Linked DNA regions of Homo sapiens: region 1 is linked to region 2. Evidence: promoter capture Hi-C in human tissues and cell types (Jung and others, 2019). All regions are on one chromosome and are shown on one strand. The core of a region is centred on a gene start or on the middle of the fragment in contact, and the rest is flanking DNA. Distances in the headings are between cores, read along the strand shown. Region 1 has its middle 23 kb from the start of ANHX. Region 2 holds the start of ZNF605 (zinc finger protein 605).

Region 1 (5,998 bases), core at 541-3,040, 300 kb after region 2:
GTTGGGGATATGGGAAGACCTTCCAGGGACATGAATAGTTTTAAGGGAGTCATTTTCTAGACTCTCAACTTTCACATGTGTTCATTGGTTAGAGGGAACTGCCTTCAGATGCACTTGGGATGGAGGTGCAGCCTCTGCACACTAACGGCAAATTGAAAATACAAATATTGATCCAGGGAAGTGACTGAGATGACTGAGTGACAAATCCCATGCTGATCAGATAGTTTCCAAGCCTTTTCTTTCAACAAAAGTAATGAGGGTCATTTAGGTATTAGCTCACTGTATTAGTCCATTCTTCCATTGCTATAAAGAACTATCTGAGACTGGGTAATTTATAAAGAAAAAAGGTTTAATTGGTTCATGGTTCACAGGCTGTGCAGGAAGTATGGCTGAGGAGGTCTCAGGAAACTTACAATCATGGTGGAAGGCAAAGAGGAAGGAGACATTCTATGTGGCTGGAGCAGGAGGAAGAGAGAGCAAAGGGGGAAGTGCTACACACTTTTAAATAAGCAGTTCTCATGAGAGCACACTCATGATCACAAGAACAGCAAGGTGGAAGTCTGCCTCTATGATCCAGTCACTTCCCACCAGGTCCCTCTTCCAACACTGAGGACCACAATTTGGCATGAGATTTGGGTGGGGACACAGATCCAATCCGCAGTGTGAATTGCTCAGTGTGAAAGTTACAGTGGAACATTTCAAATGAACAACACTGCATTTGAAGAAGTGCACTTGAAAATGAGGGCTCCTGAATTAGTCTCATCTAGGGATACCTATTGATATGCAGAAGCTTCTAAAAAGATTTCAGTATTTTTATTTAAAGACTCTTTATAAAAAGCAAATAAAAAGCTCAAGTGACTAATTGATAAGAAACATTAAATTTGCTAACCTTTTGGCTTGGTCATCATCCTACCTCGAAGGTGAAAAGAAAGTTATCCTAGATAGAGTGTTTTTAAAAGGTAAGCTCTCAGGTAAAGTAGGTTCTTGCTTCTCTTTCAGATCTCTCCATGCTGAGTCCAGGCATAGAAAGTGCTTTCTTTGCCCTATTCTTTAAGGGCCTCCATCATAAACTCAGTAATTTCAGCTAAGAAACAGTAGCAAAGTTAAAAAAGACCACCTGTCAAACTAAAGTACACCTTTCTGGAATTTAGCTGGCTACCTTTAAATCCTTTTGTGAAATAATTTCACAGTTATAAAGGAAATCTCCATTTTTATGGTGTCTGTGTATGTATATTAGAAACTCTTACCATTTTTTTAAATTCACACAACAAATCATACCTTTGTTTAAAGTTCTTTTCTGGCCATCTTGTCTTAAGTGAACTTTTACTTACACCTTTTTTCCTTTGTTTGACCAAATAATACATTATTTAGGCCTAAAGGCTTAGCTCTGTGCTTATAAAATATAATTTTTTGTTTAAAAAATTAAAAAATTATAAAATTATAAAATTTGTTTAAAAAATTATAATTTTTTGTTTAAAAAATTATAATTTTTTGTTTAAAAAATTATAATTTTTTGTTTAAAAAATTATTATATTTTGTTTAAAAAATTATAAAATATAATTTTTTGCTGGGCAGGGCGCCATGGGTCTATAGTCCCAGTTACTTGGTGAACTGAGGTGGAAGGATTGCTTGAGCCTGGGGAGGTTGAGGCTGCAGGGAGCTGTAAACACAATACTGCACTCCAGCCTGGATGACAGAGTGAGACCCTGTCTCAAAAACACAAAACAAAACAAAAACAAAAACACGACATGCTTTTGATGGGGAAAGTTATGAAGGCATAAAAATGTGTGTTTGCTAAAAAAACTTGTCTAGTTTGAAGTTACTTAAAGGTTTCAAATTGAAGGAGTAAAAAAAGATAAAACTAGATAAATATAGAAAGTTAGGGAAAAGTATAAAACACAAAAGGTTTATAGAGTTTATAGAAATCTTATGTGTTCAAAAGATGACAGACTTGATTTATTTATAAGATTTTATTAAATATTAGCTTTATATGTATAGTGCACTAATACAAAAATAAAATTAGTTTTTCTCTTCTGAACAAAAATTTCATGTAGTGTTAATAAGACAAAGTAAAATATTTTTGTTCACCTTTTGAGTAAACTGCAAAGAGAAAGACAGAGATAAGAGAAAAGAGAAGAGACAGAATTTGTCTCATGCTGTCTGAGATCTTTTGATTGGAAAACTGAGTCTCCTCTCTCAAAGAGTACAGGTTTTTGTTTAAAAAATCCTTTAATTATCACTTTGGCTAAAAGAATGACTATTATTTTATGGTGACCTGTGATCTTATTTTGGTAAAGTGTTTTAAACCTTTGACATATTTGATTGGCTTTCTAAAAATCAAATTTCAACTTCAAAGTTAAGTCTTTTTTCACCTTTTAACTTTGGGATGCTACAAAGGTCCCCTGAAGCATCCAAAAGGGAGATAAACGGATTATTTGACATGTGAAATTACATGGGAAGCATTATCAAACAAGAAAGGATGGCTTAACCTTCTTAAGTTATATCTTAAAGAATATGTTATTAATATATGTTCCAAAGTTATGTGGGATTTCTAAAATCCTAATATGTCTGGGTATATGCTATCAGTCATAATTCTGGTTATTATGTTGAGTTATTGTAAACCACAGAAATAACCAAATTTCCTTTTCAATTGTCTTTATGACCATTTAAATTCATTTCCACAGTTAATTGCTTAATTCTGATGCAGTTTCTTAAAACTTCACAAGCACATAAAATCCTAGAATATGGTGTCTTTAAGGAGATTCATGAAAGGATGGAAAGAACCCTGACACAAGCTCTCAAACACAAGTTTCTAATAACTTTAGGACCACATCGTTTGGATTGGGTAAAAATTCCTGGAACTCTAATGAAGAGACTGGCTGGTTTATAAAACTACTAAGCCAGGCAGGAAAAAAACTAATTGAATACCAAGAAAATATTTTGCCAGATGTTCATGCTAAATCAGCTAGTACTTAAATTGTTAAGATATGCAATTTAAATGAACTCCATGGTCAAAGTCAAATTACCCATGATAATCTATTGGTTATCAGTGCTATGCACCTAAATTGGAGAAACAATCAGTATTTAAGAGGATATAAGTCCAATGTTAAGTGTGGGCTCCTGGAGAGCAGCTGCCTCATCTTCCTGAGTCCTTAAAGCTTTTGTTATTAAAATCTCTGCATTCCATGACTCATTATCTAAGAAATAAAATGATCCAAATTAAAAATATATATATTTTTAGGCCGAAAAAACTTTTCCATGCTAGAGGGCTAATTTTATAACAGTAGCAAAAAGGTTATTAGAAAATGTGTTTTCCTCATGGGACATTCCTGAAGAAATCTCCAGTGATGGAAGTACTTGTTTCACTGGACAAATTTTAAAGCAGTTAAATAAGGTATTATAAATACGACAACATTTGGTAAAGCTAACTGAAATGACTGGATTGCTTTGGTCAAAGGTATTTTATATTAATGGCAATCAGATCTACTTCCAGTGTAAACCATAAGGTGATACCTTACAAAATAGTCACTGGAAGACCTATTCCCCTAATAATACAACCTCATTTATCTTCCACTACTGAACTCTGATATAACTAAATGCTGCAAGGCTTTAATGCATTATGTCAAGATGTATTTTCACCAGGTAAAGAAATCTTTTTTATGGTCTACTGACCGAGGACAATCAAACCCTTCACAATCTAGAACTTAGAGACTGGGTCTTCTAAGAACAACATCAGATAAAGACTGCCCTTGCCATCCCCATTGCAGCAAAACTTCAGGACCTTGAACCTTGGGTTCATAATGTCACAGTTCAGATGCCCTTGCCATCCCCATTGCAGCAAAACTTCAGGACCTTGAACCTTGGGTTCATAATGTCACAGTTCAGATGCCCTTGCCATCCCCATTGCAGCAAAACTTCAGGATCTTGAACCTTGGGTTCATAATGTCACAGTTCAGATGCCCTTGCCATCCTCAAGTTTTGGTCATTGTATTAGTCCGTTCTCACATTGCTACAAAAAAACTACCTGACACTGGGTAGTTTATAAAGAAAAGAGGTTTGGCCAGGTGCAGTGGATCATGCCTGTAATCCCAGCACTTTGAGAAGCCAAGGCAGGCAGATCATGAGGTCAAGAGATCCAGACCATCCTGGTCAACATGGTGAAACCCCATCTCTACTAAAAATACAAAAATTAGTTGGCTGTGGTGGCACATGCCTATAGTCCCAGCTACTTGGCAGGCTGAGGCAGGAGAATCGCTTGAAGATGGGAGGTGGAGGTTGCAGTGAGCCAAGATCGTGCCAATGCACTCCAGCCTGGGTGAAAGAGCAAGACACTGTCTCAAAGAAAAAATAATAAATACAAGAGGTTTAATTGACTCACAGTTCCGCAGGCTGTTCAGAAGGCATGGTGGGGGAGGCCTCAGGAAACTTACAATCATGGCACAAGGTGAAGGGGAAGCAAACACATCTTCACATGGCAACAGGAGAGAGAGAGAGCAAAGGGGGAAGTGACATACACTTTTAAACCATCAGGTCTAATGAGAACTCACTCACTATCACAGGAAAAATGAGGGAAAATCCATCCCCATGATCCAATCCCACCTCCCACCAGGTCCTTCCCCTAACATTGGGAATTATAATTCAACATGAGATTTGGGTGGGGACACAGAGCCAAACCATACCAGTCATACTCTCACCTAAGTGAGAACTTGACAAAAAGGGTGTAATTCTTAAACAAAATTATGGGAGGCCATTGTTTTGAACTGAGCTCATACACTAGGCCCCAACAGACCAGACCAAACCAAAATGGAGTCACTCATACTACATATGGCATAATTTAACTAAGACTTTAAGGAAAGAGATAGGTCCTAGAACTGACAAGGTTTTGTTTATCTCCTGTAAACAGGAGAGTCCAGCACAAGGAAGTACCCTCTGCTCTAACCCTTATCAAAATAAATAACCTGATGTCCTTGTACCTACCTTACAAAACCCTCTGTTCTGCTATTGTACAGTGGATTTCAAGACCAAATCAGTACATTTACATTGATGATAGTGACATCAATTACTAATGTTTTGGTCAATCTCTCAAAATCAAGGGGATGATCAAAAGGGGGAATTTGTTAAATTAAGCTTAAACAACTCTCTTCTCATCTCCATACACATCATATCTGACCAATGTCTTTATATGTGTATTCTATCATATCTGTTCACAGAATTCTTATTTCCCATTTGGCAGAAGAGGAAAGAGAGCTGCCAAAGAACAAATGATGTATCCTGGTGATGGGGCCAATCTTTGAATCCAAGCCCTGTCCCAAGATGTTTCTATTCTAAATACAGTGGAATCAGGAGAAGGATAAGCTACAATTTTTTCTCATGTGTATATATGGAGCAGGTAACTGACAGATTCTCAGGTGAGATTACTGACAAGCCAGGGGTTGCAGACCGAATTGTTAGACCCAGTTTGTGACTCCCTGTGGTTGGACAGAGTATACTTCCTTGACCATGTGACTTGTTTTGGCCAAAGGAATGATAGTGGATTTGACACAAGCAGGTCTTGAAATGTTTGTGGGGCTGCCCTTGCCTTCTCCTGCTTTGTCATCACGAGTTACTCCTGGGTATCTGTAACCCATTCAGCTTGAGCCTCAGAATAAGACAGATAGAGCATGCCTGGGCCATACCTGAACCTGGATCTAAGACCAGACGAGCTGAGTGAAGACCCTCAAACCTCAGCTGACCCACAAACTCATGAGCAAAAAAAACACTAAATTTGTGGTCACAAGACATTAAAATTTTAAGATTGATTGTTACCCAGCTGACTGACCTATCAGATTATGGAGGGATGATAACAGTTATGTGAAGAGGTAGCCCAGTGAAGAATGGGGTGAATTGGAGAAGTTTCGATGAAGAAGGTGAGTCTTGAACTGAAGCTTTACTTCCATCTCCTCCAAATCAGCCTAAGCCAGGGTAAATGAGTTAATTGTGATTGTTACTCAGACTAAAA
Region 2 (6,272 bases), core at 877-3,376:
TGGACCTCAGTGACTCCCACAGGGCTTTTAAATACAGATGCCAGACACCATAATCACCAGCACCCCCAAAGCCCCACTTAAGAATCACCACAGACTGAAACCCCAAACTCTGAGTCCCAAAGGATCCCCACAGAACTCAGATACTCCTGCAGATGAGCTGGGGAGGGGAGGAGAAGGGTGGGGAGCGGGGGAGAAGGGGCTTCAGTCACTCCTGCAGGTGAGGTGGGGAGGGGATGAGAAGGATGGGGGAGGAGAAGGGTAGGGAGGGGAGGAGAAGGGTGGGGAGGGGAGGAGAAGGGGCTTCTGTCCTGGGACGAACACACTGGTCTCCATTCACTCACTTCATCAGGTGCCCAAGTCAGGCGCTCACAGAGCCCCTCCCCTGTAACTGACATTCTGAGGCTTGCGCCACAGACCCCCTAAATTAGACCCCAGTCACTCAATGCCCAGGGATCCCTAATCCCTTATCCCCGGGGCCCCCAAGCATTCGCCCCCATGACACCCCATTCTCTAATCCACTCCATGCTGGAGCATTCACTGACATTCCCACAGGCCCTCCCAAACACCACCTGGAAAGGGATTGTGGGGCTCTGCACAAATGCCGATCCCGCAGGCCCCTCCAATGACGCCAAGTATGACCCCCGTTGTCCACGCACTCACAACTTGCAACAGGTCCACCATTAACTTACATCCAGACTCCCTTGTCACAAATACACAGCGCCATTCCTAATGCTTCCATCATAAGATCCCCAAACACAAGCACAGAAACAAACCCCAGCCACTCGCCAGCATAGGCCACCCCATACTCGCCTCCGCTATTGGAGACAGGGGTTGAAAGAGCAACCACTGTTATTCAGCTGTCAAATAAAACATACAACTGGACAGAGCAAAGAAAGACGGTTCCAAAGGGTTATTGGAAGTGGGGAAAAAAAGACGCGGAAGAGGGTTGGGAAGGGGAAGGAGAACGGGCTTCTGGGAAGAACCGTGAAGCCACGAGACTCACGTGCATCTCTGCAAGGCAAAAAGGGTTTTTCTTTCACAGAGAGGTGTGAACAAGGTTAGCAAAGACCAGGCCTGGCCAAGCGAGGTGGAAGTGCGGGCGACCAGACAGCAGAGCGGGGAAAGCTTGACCCTGAGCCAGCCTGTTCTCAGGCGAGGCTGCGTGTTGGCTCAGGCTGGGGATGGGCCAAAGCTCAAGAAAATGGGGAAAGGAAAGAAGCTTAGCTAAAGTTTGCTTAAGGAGCATTTTGCTCCGACCGCTCGGTGGAGTTCAGCCAGTCACCGATGAGGCAAGCGACGGCAACGTGGCAGGTCTGTGTGAACAAGGGGCATCCTGGAGGCTGACCAAAGTCATATAGGGAACGGGAGATCTTTGCAGTGAGCCATTTGCTGGAACCCAAAAGGGTGGGAAATTCCTCAACCTTCGCTGTTTTCCAGGAGCACAGGGCTCTGGTGAAATCCAACACTGTCACAGCCGGCAGGCTTTCCAGTGAATGGAACCCACACAAGCAAGCCCCTAAGCCCTCCAACGCAGGCCCCCGCAGAAGCCTCATCATTCACCCCGCTGGCCTCCAATGCTCACCCAAAGGCATCCAAATCATTCATCAGCAGAGTCCTAATCGCTGCAGACAAATCCTCCACACGGCCTCCCAGGGGCCCCTCTCCCCTGGGGCCAAGGGCAACCTCGCGTCCCCTTGCCCCGCCCGTGCTGCACCCCAAGTCTACAGCGACCTCCATAGGCCCCCAGTGAATCGCCCAGCTGACCCCAAATCTCCCCCGACACCCACATTCAGCGCCCCGCCGCCGCCCGCCCTACAGCCCCCACCCCACCCTCTGCCTCCCACCCCCGCGCGCCCCCAGAGCCCCCGCCTGAGGCCCGCCTTCCGCGCATGCGCCCAGGCCGGTCCGCAGGCCTTTCTCGCCCCAGCCGGCAGCCAGCTCGTTCGCGCTGGGGTCACCGCGAGCCGGTCCGCAGCGGGGTCACCGCGATCCCCGGCGCAGACACAGAGGCCGCCCCCAGCCCCGCCGCCTCGTGGTCCCGCCCCCGCTGCACGCTCCCTTACCCCTCGGACCTCGCAGGGCCGCGGCGGACACGGCCCGATCGGGGACGTGAACGCGCAGAACTACATTTCCCAGCGTCCCGCTCGCGCTGGAACTACACTTCCCGGGGGGCTCGGCGGTGCACCCGCCGGGGTCGCGGATTGGAGGTTTCCGGTTGGAAAAGCCCCTTGGCGGCTAACTGGGGAGGACTGGAAGAAATCTAGGATGGAGCCAGCACTGCTGGCCCAACATGTCTGTGAGAGAACCTAAAGGCGCCTCCAGGAGGAAGCGTCTGCATCTTTTCCTTGTTTTTTTTTTTTTTTTTTTTGGAGGCAGGGTCTCGCTCTGTCACCCAGTGGGGAGTGCAGTGGTGCCATGAACGCTCATTGCAGCCTCAGGCTGGTCTCCGACTCCTGGGTTCAAATGATCCTCCTGCCCCAGCCTCCCAAAATGCTGGAATTACAGGCATGAGTCACTGCGTCCGGCTGCTTTTCCATTTTTCATCGTAGCTGTAAGTAATATCGGTAAATGTTAGTGTTACGTGCGTCCGTATAGGAGACCACCTGAGCAGGCTAAGTGTGAGCAACACGCCTGTTTATTCACTTGGGTGCAAGTGGGCTGAGTCTGAGAAAGGAGTCAGCGGAGGGTGGTGGGCTTGTCATTGGTTCTTATAGCTTTGGGATAGGATAGGCGGTGGAGTCAGCAGCAATTTTTTTTTTTTTTTTTTTTTTTGAGACAGAGTCTCACTCTGTCGCCGAGGCTGGAGTGCAGTGGCGCGATCTCGGCTCACTGCAAGCTCCGCCTCCCGGGTTCACGCCATTCTCCTGCCTCATCCTCCTGAGTAGCTGGGACTACAGGCACCCGCCACCACGCCCGGCTAATTTTTTTGTATTTTTAGTAGAGACGGGGTTTCACTGTGTTAGCCAGGATGGTCTTGATCTCCTGACCTCGTGATCCGCCCTCCTCGGCCTCCCAAAGTGCTGGGATTACGGGCGTGAGCCACCGCGCCCGGCCTCAGCAGCAATTTTTTGCGGGCAGGGGAGGATGTTACAAAGTACATTCACAAGGGCGGGGAGGGTGTATTGTCACAAGGGCGGAGAGGAATGTTACAAAGTACATTCACAAGGACCGGGAATATTACAAAGTACATTATCACAAGGGTGGGGGAATGTCACGATGGCTTGACCATGGTGCGGCCAGCTCAGAGGACCTTACATTTAGTACATCCAATCCAGCAGTATTGACAAAAGGAATGAAAATAGATGATAGGGTTGGGCGCGGTGGCTCACGGCTGTAATCCCAGCACTTTGGGAGGCTGAGGTGGGCGGATCACCAGGTCAGGAGATTGAGACCATCCTGGCCAACACGGTGAAACCCCGTCTCTACTAAAAATACAGAACATTAGCTGGGCGTGGTGGTGGGCGCCTGTAATCCCATCTACTCGGGAGGCTGAGGCAGGAGAATCACTTGAACTCGGGAGGCGGGGGTTGCGGTGAGCCATCATGCCGCTGCACTCTAGCCTGGCAACAGAGTGAGACCTCATCTCAAGAAAAAAAAAAGGAAAAATAAATGAGATGAGGACATTACAGGGAAATAAAATATATTTATGGATATATAAAGCAGTGGCTTGTCCCTGTAGTCCCAACTACTGGAGGCTGAGGCAGGAGGATTGCCTGAGCCTGGGAGGTTGAGGCTGCAGTGAGCTATGATGGCAACACTGCACTCCAGCCTGGGCCACAGAGGGAGACACCTTCTCTTAAAAATATTTTTTGGCCAGGCCAGGCGCGGTGGCTCACACCTGTAATCCCAGCACTTTGGGAGGCTAAGGCGGGCGGATCACCTGAGGTCAGGAGTTCGAGACCAGCCTGACCAACATGGTGAAACCCCATCTGTACTAAAAATATAAAAATTAGCCAGGTGTGGTGGCTCATGCCTGTAATGGCTCATACCTGTAATCCCACCTACTCAGGAGGTGGAGGCATGAGAATTGCTTGAACCCAGGAGGCAGAGGTTGCAGTGAGCTGAGATCTCACCACTGCACTCCACCCTGGGAGACAGAGTGAGATTCTGTCTAAAAAAAAAAAAAAAGAAAAAGAAAAACTGTAAAAGCATATTAGTTTTTTAAAATAAAAATGGGGAGAAACAGGAAACACACTCACAATTGGCAATTTAAAAAATTGAAATGGCCATAAAGACCAAATTAAAGTATATATGAAATAATATTTTGCTCAATTCTATATTAGTAAATTTGGAGCCTGTGAGAGATGGAGTTTTGCTCTTGTCGCCCAGGCTGGAGTGCAGTGGCACAATATCGGCTCACTGCAGCCTCCGCCTCCTGAGTTCAAGTGATTCTCCTGCCTCAGCCTCCCGAGTAGCTGGGATTGCAGGCGTGCGCCACCACGCCCGGCTAATTTTTGTATTTTTAGTAGAGACGTGGTTTCACCATGTTGGTCAGGCTGATCTTGATCTCTTAACCTCGTGATCCGCCTGCCTCGGCCTCCCGAAGTGCTGGGATTACAGGCGTGAGCCACTGCGCCCAGCCACTCCCAGCTACTTTTTGTATTTTTAGTAGAGATGGGTTTCACCATGTTGGCAAGGCTGGTCTCAAACTCCTGACCTCTGGTGATCCATGCGTCTCGGACTCCCAAAGTGCTGGGATTACAGACCTGAGCCACCGTACCCAGCCCACATTGCCCTGCTTCTAACTGAGATTCAACTTTATTTAAGCAAACCAATTCCATGCTCAACAGAGCTAAAATTAAAATTCTGCTTTAAGGTAGTTTTGTTTTTGTTCTCAGAAAATTTTGCTGTTCACAGATTTATGATTTTCACTTTTCTCCGAGGTTAAGCGTGTCATTTATTAAATGACTTACTAGAATTTATACGCCTTTTTTTTTTTTTTTTTTTTGAGATGGAGTCTTGCTCTGTCACCCAGGCTGGAGTGCAGTGGCGCGATCTCAGTTCACTGCTACCTCTGCCTCCTGGGTTGAAGCAATTCTCCCGCCTCTGCCCCCCGAGTAGCTGGGATTACAGGCACCCACCATCATGCCTGGCTAATTTTTTGTATTTTTGTAGAGACGAGGCTTCACCATGTTGGCCAGGCTGGTGTCGAACTCATGACCTCAGGTGATCCGCCTGTCTTGGCCTCCCAAAGTGCTGGGATTACAGGCATGAGCCACTGAGCATGGCCATGGCCTTTTCTTTCATTCCAATTTTGGTCAGGAAAGAAAACAGTTTCTCTCTCTAAAAAAAAATTCCATGGCTTAAGTAAAACTTGTAAGTTTAAAAAAAAAAAAAACTGGCTAAACTCTTAAGTTCAGTTCATTTGGCACATCTGAAGTCCCATTTTAAATGACCAAAGCCAGTAAAAAAAACTTTGTATAAAGACAGAGATAAGTCTTAAAGATAAGACACTCTTTCTCCCAGCCACAAGATAATTTAGTGACTTAGGTTTTGTGAAACTTTAAGCTCATCGTTCATGACATACGTTGGACCCATAAGACTCCCCTCAACAAAAAAAATACAAAAATCTCCTAGTGCCCTAAGTGCCCAAAATTACTGGGTTTCACCAAGACATCTATTGAAAAGTGACTCTTCAATAAATAATCCTTATTAAGCAGCATACCAGATCCAACAACTCTTTCCCTTTCAGTCTTTGATCTTTAAAACAAAAACCCCAAATTATGGACATTCATCCATCTAAAACTGAGTCTTTCCCCTTCAAAAGAAATACACCTTTAATGGCTGGATGCAGTGCCTCACGCCGGTAATCTCAGTGCTTTGGGAGGCTGAGGTGGGTGGAGCACAAGGTCAGGAGTTCGAGACCAGCCTGTCCAACATGGTGAAACCCCGTCTCTACTAAAAATACAAAAATTAGCTGGGCATGGTGGCCGGCGCCTGTAATCCCAGCTACTTGGGAGTCTGAGGCAAGAGAATTGCTTGAAACAGAAAGGTGGAGGTTGCAGTGAGCTGAAATTGTGCCACCGTATTCCAGTCTGGGCAAAAGAGCGAAACTCCATCTCAAAAAAAAAAATATATATATACCTTTAAGTAACTCCAGCTAAATTCATATATAGTACTTATGATGCGACCTCCTGTCAATATCTTTTAAAATGGTCTTATTTAACCCATAAAGACCCCAAACTACAAAGACCAAAATGAAATGACATTAAAAATACCTTAATTAGTTTATTTACGTGCATAATTTTTAAAAACTGAGTCTAAAATTTTTA

Evidence for each region. The method cuts DNA at HindIII sites, captures the fragments that hold promoters and counts their contacts. A contact is called where the count stands out against the background at its distance.
Region 1: a fragment that was not itself captured here is called in contact with the fragment with the promoter of ZNF605 in region 2 in 2 of the 25 tissues and cell types used here (H1 embryonic stem cells and IMR-90 fibroblasts).

Annotation. Positions count from the first base shown.
Region 1 is chr12:133,255,516-133,261,513 of GRCh38, forward strand. No RefSeq gene overlaps it. Among named protein-coding and RNA genes, the nearest start is that of ANHX, 23 kb to the left of the region's middle. The HindIII fragment of the contact is 4,704 bases long and covers 1-4,142 here.
Region 2 is chr12:132,954,180-132,960,451 of GRCh38, forward strand. It overlaps ZNF605 (zinc finger protein 605), which reads right to left and starts at 2,127. Exons shown (of 5, transcript NM_183238.4): 1 at 2,064-2,127. It overlaps LOC124903064 (a long non-coding RNA gene), which reads left to right and starts at 2,370. Exons shown (of 2, transcript XR_007063552.1): 1 at 2,370-2,551. RefSeq lists enhancers at 845-1,675, 1,104-1,398, 1,676-2,504, 2,258-2,337 and a silencer at 1,758-2,097. The HindIII fragment of the contact is 15,452 bases long and covers 1-6,272 here.